Regions from separate parts of the Homo sapiens genome. Here regions 2, 3 and 4 are each linked to region 1. The links are contacts of gene promoters, found by promoter capture Hi-C in blood cells and fetal thymus (Javierre and others, 2016). All regions are on one chromosome and are shown on one strand. Each heading gives the region's core, a stretch centred on a gene start or on the middle of the fragment in contact. The rest is flanking DNA. Distances are from core to core; before and after follow the strand shown. Region 1 holds the start of DHX40 (DEAH-box helicase 40). Region 2 overlaps GDPD1 (glycerophosphodiester phosphodiesterase domain containing 1). Region 3 holds the start of GDPD1 (glycerophosphodiester phosphodiesterase domain containing 1). Region 4 has its middle 31 kb from the start of YPEL2.

What was found. Contacts are between HindIII fragments. The CHiCAGO score rates a contact against its expected background, and 5 or more counts as called.
Region 2: a contact is called between a fragment that was not itself captured here and the fragment with the promoter of DHX40 in region 1, in 1 of 17 cell types (M2 macrophages). The highest score is 5.6, in M2 macrophages.
Region 3: a fragment that was not itself captured here is called in contact with the fragment with the promoter of DHX40 in region 1 in 2 of 17 cell types (endothelial precursors and M0 macrophages); the score reaches 6.1 in endothelial precursors.
Region 4: a contact is called between a fragment that was not itself captured here and the fragment with the promoter of DHX40 in region 1, in 1 of 17 cell types (M0 macrophages). The highest score is 5.8, in M0 macrophages.

The regions. Positions count from the first base shown.
Region 1 is chr17:59,563,891-59,567,156 of GRCh38, reverse strand. It overlaps DHX40 (DEAH-box helicase 40), which reads right to left and starts at 1,547. Exons shown (of 18, transcript NM_024612.5): 1 at 1,374-1,547; 2 at 363-530. The coding sequence starts at 1,485. RefSeq lists a silencer at 909-1,038 and enhancers at 1,449-1,708, 1,324-1,866. The HindIII fragment of the contact is 14,558 bases long and covers 1-3,266 here.
Region 2 is chr17:59,271,802-59,275,258 of GRCh38, reverse strand. It overlaps GDPD1 (glycerophosphodiester phosphodiesterase domain containing 1), which reads right to left. Exons shown (of 10, transcript NM_182569.4): 9 at 2,423-2,474; 10 at 1-1,608. The coding sequence ends at 1,486. Among named protein-coding and RNA genes, the nearest start is that of GDPD1, 53 kb to the right of the region's middle. The HindIII fragment of the contact is 939 bases long and covers 1,521-2,459 here.
Region 3 is chr17:59,218,682-59,221,943 of GRCh38, reverse strand. GDPD1 (glycerophosphodiester phosphodiesterase domain containing 1) reads right to left here and starts at 1,433. Exons shown (of 10, transcript NM_182569.4): 1 at 1,193-1,433. The coding sequence starts at 1,334. RefSeq lists an enhancer at 857-1,407. The HindIII fragment of the contact is 164 bases long and covers 1,632-1,795 here.
Region 4 is chr17:59,299,394-59,302,654 of GRCh38, reverse strand. No RefSeq gene overlaps it. Among named protein-coding and RNA genes, the nearest start is that of YPEL2, 31 kb to the left of the region's middle. The HindIII fragment of the contact is 4,395 bases long and covers 1-3,261 here.

The DNA of each region.
Region 1 (3,266 bases), core at 298-2,797:
ACCAAGAAGTACTAATGGCAGCAACAGATATCACATATCTCTTACCCCTCAAAATTATTTCAGTATCCAATGGTTAATAGTCTACTGCTAGACAACTTTATTCTATAAAATGGAATATCTAGATGTAATTCTATTTGAGATTATTATGGTAATTAAAAATGGGAAAATTTGCCATCCCAACTAATTCTTGAACCTGAAATAGACCATAAAGAAGCAAAGGAGACATAGGGGAAGGGGGTGTGCCAAGAGAAGCGGGACTATAAAGCAAATACTGGGCAATCATGGAGTACAGAAGTCCTACTGGCCTTTAAAAAGAGGATATTTTTAAAATATTTCCAATTATTACAACAGAAAAAAATCACCTGCTTCATATAGATATTTTGGGAGTTGAGTTGTTTTACCACTTCCTGTATTTCCAGTAACAATAAGGAATGAATTGTCCCTCACAGCTTGAATAATCTTTTTTCTTTGTTTCTGAATAGGAAAAGTTGGAGTAGTTCCTCCCTCCTGGGACGTGCATCCTTTCTCTTCTGTAATAACAGAAAAACAAGTCAATTAAAAGACTTGTAAAGATATCTCTGACTCAATTTCTCATGACTAAAACCAGAAAGGCAATAGAATTTTAGGGCTGGACGGGATCATCCATGACTTCTCAGTTAAATCGCTCATGTAAGTGAGCGTTAATGAGCGCAATTTGTAAGTGAGGGTTAATGAGCCCAGAACAACTTTTTGGTGAAATCCAGCAACTTGAGCATTTGTTCACGCATAACTCAAAGTACTTTTCAAAGCAAGTATAGCTCAAGGCAACGTATACACATGCATACTTACACAGAAGCACAAAACTCAATTTTATTTAACAATAGACCAAAAACTGGAACACAGCAGAAAATTCTCAGCTGGATTAGAAGCCACCTGTGTTTGCTTCTGATTCATGGTTCAAGTTAGGTCCCTGTTCAGAGCGACTGATATCCCAGAAGGCCAAGTGGTGGGTAACCATGGAAACTGGCTCCTGGAAACTGGCTCCCTTCATACTGTACCCAAAGGCAGGCTGGCGGCCCGACGAAGGGTGGGGGGGATGAATGGGTAGAGAACAAAGGGTCTATGAGCCTGTTTAAGAACAGAATGCATTTCGGGCGTTGGGGTTCACTTTTTCGCCCCCCAGTAAGGTTTTCGCCTAACTTGAATCTGGGACCGCCCCCCTCTAAGGCAAAGTGCTCATTGGACGCAAAGTTCGCCTCGGGCTTGGAAAGCCAGGAGAACGCCACGGCTTCCTCACTACTCTTCTCAGCCTGCCAAAGGCGTACTTTCATCCCCCCACCAAAACCCCCACGCCGTAACTCCCGCTGGCTTCCGTACCGTCCCGCGGACCGCACCTCTATCGGCGATGCAAACAGCCGAGAGCCGCTCTTCCTGGAGGTCTCTTGACCGCTCACCCTCCTCCTGCCGCCTTGGCGCCCTGCCCGCGACTGCGGGAAACCGGGACATAGACCTGGCCCCGAGTGGAGGCGAGCACGTCCACCGATCTGAGGAGATGGGAGGGGAAAGACGAGGACGCGCCCTGATGACGTAGAGGTGTTTACTTCCGCGCGTGCGACTTGTAGCAAGGGGAGGGGGAGCTGCTCGATGACGTGGTACGGGGCGGCCGGACCTCGAGCCGAGGCTCCACCCCCCAGGGATTTCCCGCCAACTGCCACGTGCGCTTCGCCTTGGGCGGCTGAGCCATACCTGAGGGCCCGAAGACCCCCTCTTGTTTCGCCTCTCCGGCGCCGAAGGTCGCGACGACACCTCTTTTCAACGCCACAGTGGTCTCTGCAGGCTATTCTGCCTTCACACACTTGACACGATGTAACCCTCTGCCCGGAGCTGGAACCATGATCCCAGAGTGCTGCGTTCCTCAACTCATTCTCACCTTTCCTAATCTGATATGACCTGTCCAAGGCACACAGCTACTGAGTTGTGGAGCCGAACTTTTAGTTATGTTATTATCAAAACTTAGGTCACCAAGGCTGTTCATTTCCCTCATAGGACCCTGCATTTTAATTTATTTGCATGTTTCCTCTTCTGCCCAGCTAGATTGTAAAGCCCCCCCCCACAAGAGTCGAAATATTAAAACACTGCTACATCCAGGGCCCAGCACAGTGATTCAAGGTGGGCTGTCAATATTTGTTGACTTTGCTGGAATGGAGGAATAATAATTGACTTCCTTAGGAATTAAGCTCATTTTTGATAGAGGTGCATTCCTTGGAAACCACAGTAGCTGAAAAGTTCAACAGATACACAGCATCTGAGGCAGGGCAACTTTTTCAGAAAAGGTACTTTGGGGGCAGGTCTTTCTGGTCTAGAGCCTGCCAATTTTTAAATTAGTGTCAACTGTAACAAAATCATTGCAATGTGAACAAGATTGTTTGTTGGACTCCTCAATTGTTCCTGCTGTTAGAATTAGCCAACACTTACTACCAAAGAAGACAACTCAAAACTGTCACTTCACCATCACCTAAAGACCCTCTTGTCTGACCAGGCTTCAAAAGATGTACCATAAGGTTGTTGGGCCCCCAGATTTTTCTGTGCTCATTTGAAGTGAAGTCATGGCCATGCATGGTGGCTCATGCCTGTAATGCCAGCACCTTGGGGGGCCAGGACAGATGAATCACTTGAGATCAGGAGTTCGAGACCGGCCTGGCCAATATGGTGAAACCCCGTCTCTATTAAAAATAAAAAAATAAAAAAAATTAGCCGGGTGTGGTAGCACGCGCCTATAATCCCAGCTACTCGGGAGGCTGAGGCAGGAGAATCGCTTGAACCTAGGAGGCAGGGGTTGCAGTGAGCCAAGATCATGCCACTGCACTCCAGCCTGGGCAACAGAGCGAGATTCCACCTCAAAAAATAAAGTGAACTCATACCAACTGCTTTTAAATGGAACTGATCAACACTTCTTAAAATGCAAGCTCATCAGATTTTGAATGATACCAAATAAGTTGGAACTTTGTAACAACTTTATATCTCAAAACCTGGGTATGAGAGGAAGCAATCTGGTAAATAGGAGAACATTCCAGGTTTCTCTCTTTCATTAGGAGCATCTCCCAGCCTTCTGGATCATGTTAGGAATTCAAAATATTATAGAAACAGAAAGCAAAATGGCAAAAATACATTTGTGGTACAGGCAAGGTATTGGTAATCTCAGTATTTCAGTATAGGGCATCTCTATCAGTGATATAATAAAGTCACTTTCTAAAAATCATCATTTCAGACCAATGATGATTACCACT
Region 2 (3,457 bases), core at 741-3,240, 290 kb after region 1:
ACACATCACTGATTTCCAAGCTTTTTTCCGTTTTATTTTTCCTCTTTAACTAAGGTACACCTAGAAATAACAAGACACTACCAAATAGCTGCAATGGCCTTCAAAATTTCTTTTACTGGCCGGGTGCAGTGGTTCAAACCTGTAATCCCAGCACTTTGAGAGGCCGAGGTGGGTGGATCACCTGAGGTCAGGAGTTCGAGACCAGTCTGGCCAACGTGGCAAAACCCTGTCTCTACTAAAAATACAAAAATTAGCTGGGCATGGTAGCAGGCACCTGTAATCCCAGGTACTCGGGAGGCAGAGGCAGGAGAATTGCTGGAACCTGGGAGGCAGAGGTTGCAGTGAGCCAAGATCGCACCACTGCACTCCGGCCTCGGCGACAGAGCAAGACTACATGTCAAAAAAAAAAAAAAAATCTTTTACTAATTGATTGTATTCCAGTGAAGACTATTGCCAATTTTTTTTCTTTTTTTCTTTTTTTGAGACGGAGTCTTGCTCTGTAGCCCAGGCTGGAGTGCAGTGGCGCGATCTCGGCTCACTGCAAGCTCCGCCTCCCGGGTTCACGCCATTCTCCTGACTCAGCCTCCCGAGTAGCTGGGACTAAGGTGCCCACCACCACGCCCAGCTAATTTTTTGTATTTTTAGTAGAGACGGGGTTTCACCATGTTAGCCAGGATGGTCTCGATCTCCTGACCTCGTGATCCGCCCGCCTCGGCCTCCCATTTTTTTTTTTTTTTTTTTTTTTTGAGACGGAGTCTCACTCTGTCTCCCAGGCTGGAGTGCAGTGGTGCTATCTTGGCTCACTACAGCCTCTGCCTCCCGGGTTCAAGCAATTCTTGTGCCTCAGCCTTAAGAGCTGCTGGGATGACAGACGTGTACCACCACGCATGGTTAATTTTTGTATTTTTGGTAGAGATGGGGTTTTGCCATGTTGGCCAGGCTGGTCTTTAACTCCTGACTTCAGATGATCCGCCTGTCTCAGCCTCCCAAAGTGCTGGGATTACAGGCATGAGCCACCACACTCAGCCCAATGCCAAATGTATCCAATAGTCTTTGATTCCAGAATTACTTATGATAGAACACTGCATCATCTACAGAAATCTTGATCAATAACCTAGATAACCTAGTTTCTAGGTTATTGATCAAGATTTCTGTAGATGATGTAGTATGTACATTTCTGTGTATGTTATTAATCAAGATTTCTGTATAAGATCTAGAAACAAAAATGCACATTAAGAAATTAAAACTTACATCTCATAACCAATTATCTTTCTAAACAATTTACAAACATAAAATATACAATATTATTTAAAATAAATATACATATAATATATAGTTTCTACATTCTCATACAGGCTTAAAAATGAGGTAATAAAAACTGATTAAACCTTTTACCATTCTGGAAATGGCTTAGGGAAATGATCATGAAATATTTTTTTCTTAGGTCTTCATTTTTTCCTTCAATACTTCTAAGTACCTCTTTTTCTATGCTGAAAAGTTATGTAAAAAATCCCTAAGCTTTGTTGGATAGTCTGTCATCACCCCAGTTGCTCCCAAATCAAAAGCTCTTTTGTATTCTTGTTCTTCATTTAATACCCAAATATACACCTGAAAATTAGAAGTGTGAGAAGTATGAGAAGAAATGTTAAAATAGAAAATTATTTTTATAACAGTATTTATCCACTACAGTCTTGGTACATTTAGAAATAACCTTTTAAAGCTATCATTTAAATAAATCATTAGATCCTTTTTTAAAATTCCACTTTGTTCCTTACAGGAATGAGGAGTGTTAAAAAAAAATTCATGGTGCTTGTTAAATATACAGACTCCTGGCTGAGCGCGGTGGCTCACGCCTGTAATTCCAGCACTTTGGGAGGCCAAGGCAGGCAGATCACCTGAGGTCCGGAGTTCGAGATCAGCCTGGCCAACATGGCAAAACCCAGTCTCTACTAAAAATACAAAAATTAGCCAGGTATGGTGGTGCATGCCTATAATCCCAGCTACTTAGGAGGCTGAGGCATGAGAATTGCTTGAACCTGGGAGGTGGAGGTTGCAGTGAGTCAAGACTGCACCACTGCACTCCAGCCTGGGTGACAGAGTGAGACTCCATCTCAAAAAAAAAAAAGAAAAAAGTAAAAAAAGAAATATACATACATATATTTATATATATATACACACACACAAACACTGTCCCACCCCTCTGGCATCAGCTATTCTGTACATAAGAGGAATCTAGATCCAGAAATGCCAATGCTTTATTGCTAAGTGTAAGGAAGAGCTTAAGGTCCTCATTTGTGGATCAGTAAAGCAGCAGCATCAGAGTCAAGGGCCAAACTAAGTCAGTTAAAAGTTCTTGCCCTTTATATTTGTGTTAAACTGGTGAGCTATGCTGCTTCCAAAATGCATCATTCCAGAAACTTACTTGAATGCCTCGAGCAGTTAGGTGGTCAAACAAAGCTTTCCTCATTAGTAAGCTAGAAAAGAAAAAGCAAAACTGATTTAGGAATTTAGTCCTTAGTCCTAATTTAGTCAATTTAGAGTTTAGTAATTCCAGTTTAATTTAATCCCAATGCTTCAGCAATAAAAGAAATGGTCTCAAGTAATAATAGCTGTTGTGAATTAATTTATGTCTTAATTGCTGGATCTCCTTTCACTGCAGGCTGCTGGTTGGTGGACAACCAGAACCTCCTTTCTACTTCTTGCTGCTACCAGATTCATAGGAGACCCATTCTTGTTGGCACAGCTCAATGGAAAAGAGGCTGCCTCATTTTCACTGCTGAAGAAGGAGAAAGAGCTGGCTTTCCTTTCTTACTATTAATGTGTGTTCCTAACTTTCCAAGTTAAAATAAGTCAACAAATGCAGGTCAATTTCTATAACATCATAGTTCATTACACAATGGATTAGTCTTTTGTAAGCGATGTTAGAAGCATTATGTCCATTAATTACACTATCCTATGTCTAGGGAAAAAATATTTTTTTGTTCCAAGTAACTCACTGATAAGTGAACTTTCAAAATACAAACCTCTTGAGCAAGATAGGAATTCATTGCACTGGAAAGACATTATTTCTATTCTGTTATGTCTATTAGAATGATTAAATAACAGAAACTAGAAATCATGTGCTTTTAACACCAATTAACAATGCATCTTGTCAGTTAATAGGGTTGAAAAAAGAAAAAAAATGCATCCTGGTTTTACTTGAGTACAAAAAAAAGGCATCCTTGAAAACTAGAGCTTAAATCAAGAATAAAGCAAAAAAGAATAAACACTGACAGAGAGAAAAGATAAAACTAATTGTTTAAGACTCTTTGAAAAAGGCGTTAAGGCTGGGCGCGGTGGCTCACACCTGTAATCCCAGCACTTTGGGAGGCTGAGGTGGGCAGATCACATGAGGCCAGGAGTTCGAGATCAGCCTGGCCAACATGATGAAACCTCATCTCTACTAAAAAATACAAAA
Region 3 (3,262 bases), core at 464-2,963, 350 kb after region 1:
TTAACTAATAAAATTATATAGAAGAATGATAATGTACTTCCGTATTTATATTTCAAAACCTTTTTCCTTGGCCAATACTTGTTAGTAAAGTGATTATGGTACTACACCAAGTTTTAGACTGTAAACTCCTAGAAATTATCATTTCAAGTGTGTATTAAATTTCAAGCAAATTTTAAACCGGTTTAAGATTCAGCCTTAAAGAACAGTTAAAATTGATTGAAAATAATCCAATTTCACCGCACTTTATACATCATAGTTGAAATGCAATGAAGACACATTATTACACAATAATGAAGAAGCAAAGATTTGGCCTGTTATCTGGGAAATTAGAGGGTGGACTACCTGGGCTCCTTTTAGCAAAACACTTTTCCAAAAGAAACTTATTTTTGTTTTCTTTAAACAATACTGTCCTGTCCTAAACGAAATCATTTTTAGTCTGTTGAAAATCCACGTGTCTTTGCGTGTTTATTTATTTATTTATTTATTTATTTATTTATTGCAGTGTTCAAAAAAAAAAAAAAAAAGATGCAAGGTTTCCAGCCCTGAGGACCAGGACGCTGTAGCTCCTGTCTCAGTTCAGCCCTAGCTCTAATTGTGACCTTGGGAAATGTCCCTGGCTCGGGGGACTCGGTTTCCCTCTCTTCTCAATTATGAGTGCTCGGAACGTGGGGGTGGGACGGGCCCCCAGCACCGCAGACAAGGGGTTACAGCTCGTCCAGCTTCATGCAAATCCCCAGCCCTCCTCGTCGCCTCGGCTCTTCCCATCCACTCAGCCACTAGCTCGCTCGGAGCAGTGTGCTCCCGGTGCCCCCCGCGGGGTACCCTCGGTTCTGCACGGCGCTCCCCCTTTGTGTCTTGCTGCTAGGAAGGGACCTTGCGATCATCCTTCCATCCGCCGAGAAACGCTCCACCTACCCTTCATTCTCGACCGTGTCTTTCCCGTTTCAGAGAACCCCTCACACTGCTGCCCTCGAGAGACCCCCGCCGTGGCTCTGACCGGGAATCCCTCTCCTTCCCTCCCCTCAGGAGACCTTCCCTTCACACAGCCTTCACCTCCGGAAGAGCCCTCAATTCACACAACCCCATTCTTCCTCAAACTCTCAGGGATTGGCACCCGGCTGCCTTTTGCGGAGCCGCAAAGGACCCTCAGCCTCCCCCACCTCCGTCATCGGGTTCTGGGGACCCCTCTCACCTCCGCGGTGAGAGATGTGTTTACTGAGGAATCGCTGCTTCTTTCTCTGGTGCAGCAAGGTCGGGTATTTAAGCAACAAGAATGAGGTCACCAAGTATCCTCCTAGCGTAGAGAGAAGGTAAAAAGCCGCAGTGGACGACATCTCAGTCACCGTGTGGGAAGTCTCCCACCTCCGGGCCCTCTGAACTCCGCTGCGGCAGTAGCAACGACGGCGGCGGCGGCGGCTGCTCGAGGTCGGCTCGCCCCCAGCCGGTGCCACTGGTGCAGCGCACTTGTCGGTGCCGGCCTACTGCGCACGCGCAGCTGGACCCCAGCGCCCCAGCAACAAAGAGGCTCCGACGCGCAGGCGCTCTCCGGCTCCCGTGTAGGAACCTGCAGAGATCCTGGACTGAGCGTTTGTCACCTAGCTCTGTGGACGGACCCTCATGAAGAGAAAGCTTGCAAACCTGCCAGTGTGTTGGCCATCACTCAAGCAGAAAAGACTATTCACGGGCAGCCTTTCCTAATTGGAAAATCCACATCAAAAAGGAAAGATTCCAGGGCGCGTCTTATCCCTTGCTCTAGAAAATGCAAATAATTTGTACCTATGGAGGCGATAAAGCTTGCTAAAACACTAAATAAACTCCTCCGTTTATCTAGCCTAGAGAGAATTTCCCCTATGGTCGCATATACTAGAAAAGGTACTGGTTTATCAGTCAAATATCTGAGAGATCGGCCCCTGTCCTCCCTCATTTCATTGTGAAAGTGCAATCCTCATTCTTTGTACACAATAGGCACTGTAGAAGTATTTGTTGACTTACAAGTCCGTATAAAATAAGGAAACTTTGTTAAGGTTATAAGGTATTACCTAAAAGTCCTAGAAAGACAGATAACTAAGTTCCAGAAGGCCCTACTAGTTTTCCTTTTACCCGACAAATTACAAACTGCTAACACACGAAAAGCCACACACTTCAATGCAAAAGAAATAAATCACCCAGGACTGAGGGAGAAATTTTACGGAGAAGACCATATCTCCCACAGGACTAGAAAAGCAGAGTGAATATTTAAAATCCTGATTCAGCCGGGCGCGGTGGCCCACGCCTGTAATCCCAGCACTTAGGGAGGCCGGGAAGGAAGGGTGGATCGCTTGAGCCCGGGAGTTCGAGACCAGCCTGGGCAACATGGCGAAACCCCATCTCTACAAAAAATAAAACAAAATAAGCCCGGCGTGGTGGCGTGCACCTGTAGTCACGCTACTTGGGAGGCTGAAGTGGGAGTATTGCTTGAGCCTGGAAAATCGAGGCTGCAGTGAGCTATGACTGCACCACTGCACCCCAGCCTGGGCGACAGAGCAAGACCCTATCTCAACTATAAAAAGAAAATTAGAAGAAAATAGGGGGTGGCTGGGCACGGTGGCTCAAGCCTGTAATCCCAGCACTTTGGGAGGCTGAGGCGGGCAGATCATTTGAAGTCAGGAGCCTGGCCAACATGGCGAAATTCCATCTCTACTAAAAATACAAAAATTTGCCAGGGGTGGTGGCGTGTGCCTGTGATCCCAGCTACTCAGGAGGCCGAGGCAGGAGAATCTCTTGGACCCGGGAGGCAGAGGTTGCAATGAGCCGAGAAGGCGCCACTGCACTCCAGCCTGGGTGACAGAGCGAGACTCCGTCTCAAAAAAAAAAAAAAAAAAAAAAAAAAAAAAAAAAAAAAAAATTCCTTTAGTCGAGGTTGAAGTGAGCCTTGATGGTGCCACTGCACTCCAGCCTGGGCAACAGAGCAACATTCTGAGGAAACTTACAGGTTAAAAAATCATGTGTTCTGTTTAGGGCTGTTAAACTATTTCCTGTAGATCAACTGACGCACATAGTTCTATTTTTCAAAATATCACCTGATGACTATGGAAGCGTCTAGAATAAACCACTGTGGCATAAAAATTATTTTGAGGCTGGGCATGGTGGCTCACGCCTGTAATCCCAGCACTTTGGGAGGCTGAGACAGGCAGATCACCTGAGGTCGGGAGTTCGAGACTAGCCTGGCCATCATGGTGAAACCCCGTATCTACTAAAAATACAAAAATAAGCCAGGCATAGT
Region 4 (3,261 bases), core at 398-2,897, 260 kb after region 1:
TGGCAACCACCATTCCACTCTCTTCTACTATTATTTTGACTATTTAATTTTATTTTTAATTGTTTTAGACACAAAGTCTCACTATGTTGCCCAGGTTGGACTCGTACTCTTGGAAACAAGGGATTCTCTTGCCTCAGCCACTGGAGTAGCTGGGACTATAGGTGCATCCCACCACACCTGGCTATTTTATTTTATTTTATTTTATAGTAGGTAAAAAAAATTTTTTTTGAGACAGTCTCGTTCTGTCGCCCAGGCTGGAGTGCAGTGGACCTATCTCGGCTCACTGCAACCTCCTGGGTTCAAGTTATTCTCTTGCCTCAGCCTCCAGAGTAGCTGGGACTACAGACCCGCGCCACCACGTCCGGCTAATTTTTTGTATTTTTAATAGAGACGGGTTTCACCGTGTTAGGCAGGATGGTCTCGATCTCCTGACCTCATGATCCACCCGCCTCAGCTCCCAAAGTGCTGGGATTACAGGCATGAGCCACTGTGCCCGGCAGAAAAATATGTTTGTACTCGCAAAAAGCAGTACCTGATGAATGGTGAACTACGGAAACTCACAGAATTGATTTTGCGTTTGGAAGTATTCATGTGCGATACCCTGCTTTCAAAGGGTTACAGAGGCAAGTTAGTTTGTCTTAGGTGATTTAGACTGCTTTAGATCCACATATAAGTAAGATCATACAGTATTTGTCCTTCTATGTCTGGCTTATTTCACTTAGTATGATGTTCTCCAGATTCAACCATGTTGTCACAAATGGCAGGGTTTCCTTCTTTTTTTTTTTTTTTTTTTTTTTTTTTTGAGACGGAGACTTGCTCTGTTGCCCAGGCTGGGGTGCAGTGGCGCGATCTCGGCTCACTCACTGCAAGCTCCGCCTCCTGGGTTCACGCCATTCTTTTGCCTCAGCCTCCCGAGTAGCTGGAACTACAGGCGCCTGCCACCACACCTGGCTAATTTCTTTTTGTAGTTTTAGTGGAGACGGGGTTTCACTGTGTTAGCCAGGACGGTCTCGATCTCCTGACCTCGCGATCCGCCCATCTCGGCCTCCCAAAGTGCTGGGATTACAGGCGTGAGCCACCGTGCCCAGGCGGTTTCCTTCTTTTTAAAGGCTCCATAATATTCCACTGTATATGTATACCACATTTTCTTTATCAATTTGTCTGTTGATGGACATCTAGGTTGTTTCCATATCTTGGCTATTGTGATAGTGCTGCAATGAACATGGGAGTGTAGCTATCTCTTTGACATGCTGATTTCATGTCCTTTGGATATATATACCCAGAAGTGGGATTGCTGGATCATAAGGTATTCTATTTTTAATTTTTTTAGGAACCTCCATACTATTTTCTGTACTGTTGGCTGTACCTACCCATTTCATTTTTCACATCTACATTCTTGCATTTAAATTCCCCCTCAAACATTATGTTAAGGAATAAACAGGAACAGAAAGTTAAACAACGCGTGATCTCACTCATATGTGGAAGCTAAAAAAAAAAAAAAGGTGATCTCATAGACGTAAAAAGTAGAACAGAGGATGCTATAGGCCAGGAAAGGTAGGAGGAAGGAAGCGATAGAAAGCTAGATAGGAGGAACAACTTCTAGTGTACCACTATAGGATGACTATAGTTAACAGTAACATGTAGTTTCAAGTAGTTAGGAGAAGGATATTGACCGGCCTGGGCAACATAGTGAGAAGAAAAGTAAAGAGAAGAATAGAAGAGAAGAGAAGGGAAGAGAAGAGAAGGAAACGAAGGAGGGAGGGAGGGAGACAGGGAGGGGGAAGGGAGAGGAAGGTAGGGGAGGGAAGAAAAGAAAAAGAAAAAGATAAAAAAAAATTAGCCAGGCACGGTGGCACACACCTGTGGTCCGAGAGGCTGAGGCGGGAGGATCGCTTGAGCCTGGGAGGTCAAGACTGCAGTTAGCTATAATTATGCTACTGCACTGCAGCCTGGGTGACAAAGCAAGACCATGTCTCACAAAAAAGGATATTGAGCATTCTCAACACAAAGAAAGGATAACTGTTTGAGATGATGGATATGCTAATATCCTCACCTGATCGCTATACATTATATGTATTGAAACATCATTATGTCCTGTGTGAAACACAAGTGATAGAAAACAATGTTTTAAAAAGGAAAAAAAGGTAACATTACTATGTGCTGCATGAATATGTACAATTATTGTCAATTAAACACATAAATAAAATAAATTCCACCTTAAGACAAATTTATTTTTGTTGTATATTCCTTATCCTCTCCTTGTATTTTATCTTTCAAATCAAAAAGAGCATTTTAGATCCGGAGGGACCATTTCCTCTACCTGCATATGTCACCCTGTAAATATCACATTTTTTTTTTGTTTTGATTTGTTTCACTTTGTTTTGAGACGGAGTCTCGCTCTTGTTACCCGGGCTGGAGTGCGTTGGTGCAATCTCGGCTCACCACAACCTCTGCCTCCCAGGTTCAAGAGATCCTCCTGCCTCAGCCTCCCGAGTAGCTGGGATTACAGGCATGCACCACCACACCTGTCTAATTTTGTATTTTTAGTAGAGACGGAGTTTCTCCATGTTGGTCAGGCTGGTCTCGAACCCCTGACCTCAGGTGACCTGTCCGCCTTGGCCTCCCAAAGTGCTGGGATTACAGGTATGAGCCACTGTGCCCAGCACTATCACATTTCTTAAGATTTGCTTTCCTAATTCTGTCTGATTCCAGGGTCAAAGTCCTTGACTATAGCACAAGCAGTTTAGCTTAGGAAGACCATGGCTTATTCATTTTCCTCTTCCTCCACTCTACTGCCTTCTTAGCTTTGGGCTTAGAAGTCAACCAATAAAATCTCAGTGCCTGCAACACATGGATTGATATCATTGTCCCCAAACCCATTTTGCAATCTGTGATCAACTTTTAAATTAGTCATAGTGCTTATTATCAGGAAAGGGGAGTATTTCATGTCCAGACAAAAACTAATTTGTAAGTGGATCCACAGCTGAAGCTGCAATATAACAATTCATTTATTTAACAAATATTTATTGAGACCTTCTATGTGCCAAGCATTGTTCTAAGCTCTGAGATAAGGCAGTAGCCAAAACAAATTCCTTATGGTTATGGACTTATATCCTGGTGGGAAGAGACAGATAAAAAACTAGCAAATATATCAATATATAAAAAAAATGTCAGCTAGTGATATGTGCTATGGATAAAAATGAAACTGGATAAGGGTGAGAGATAATGAGAAGGTATAAAGGGCTATTTCAGATGAGTACC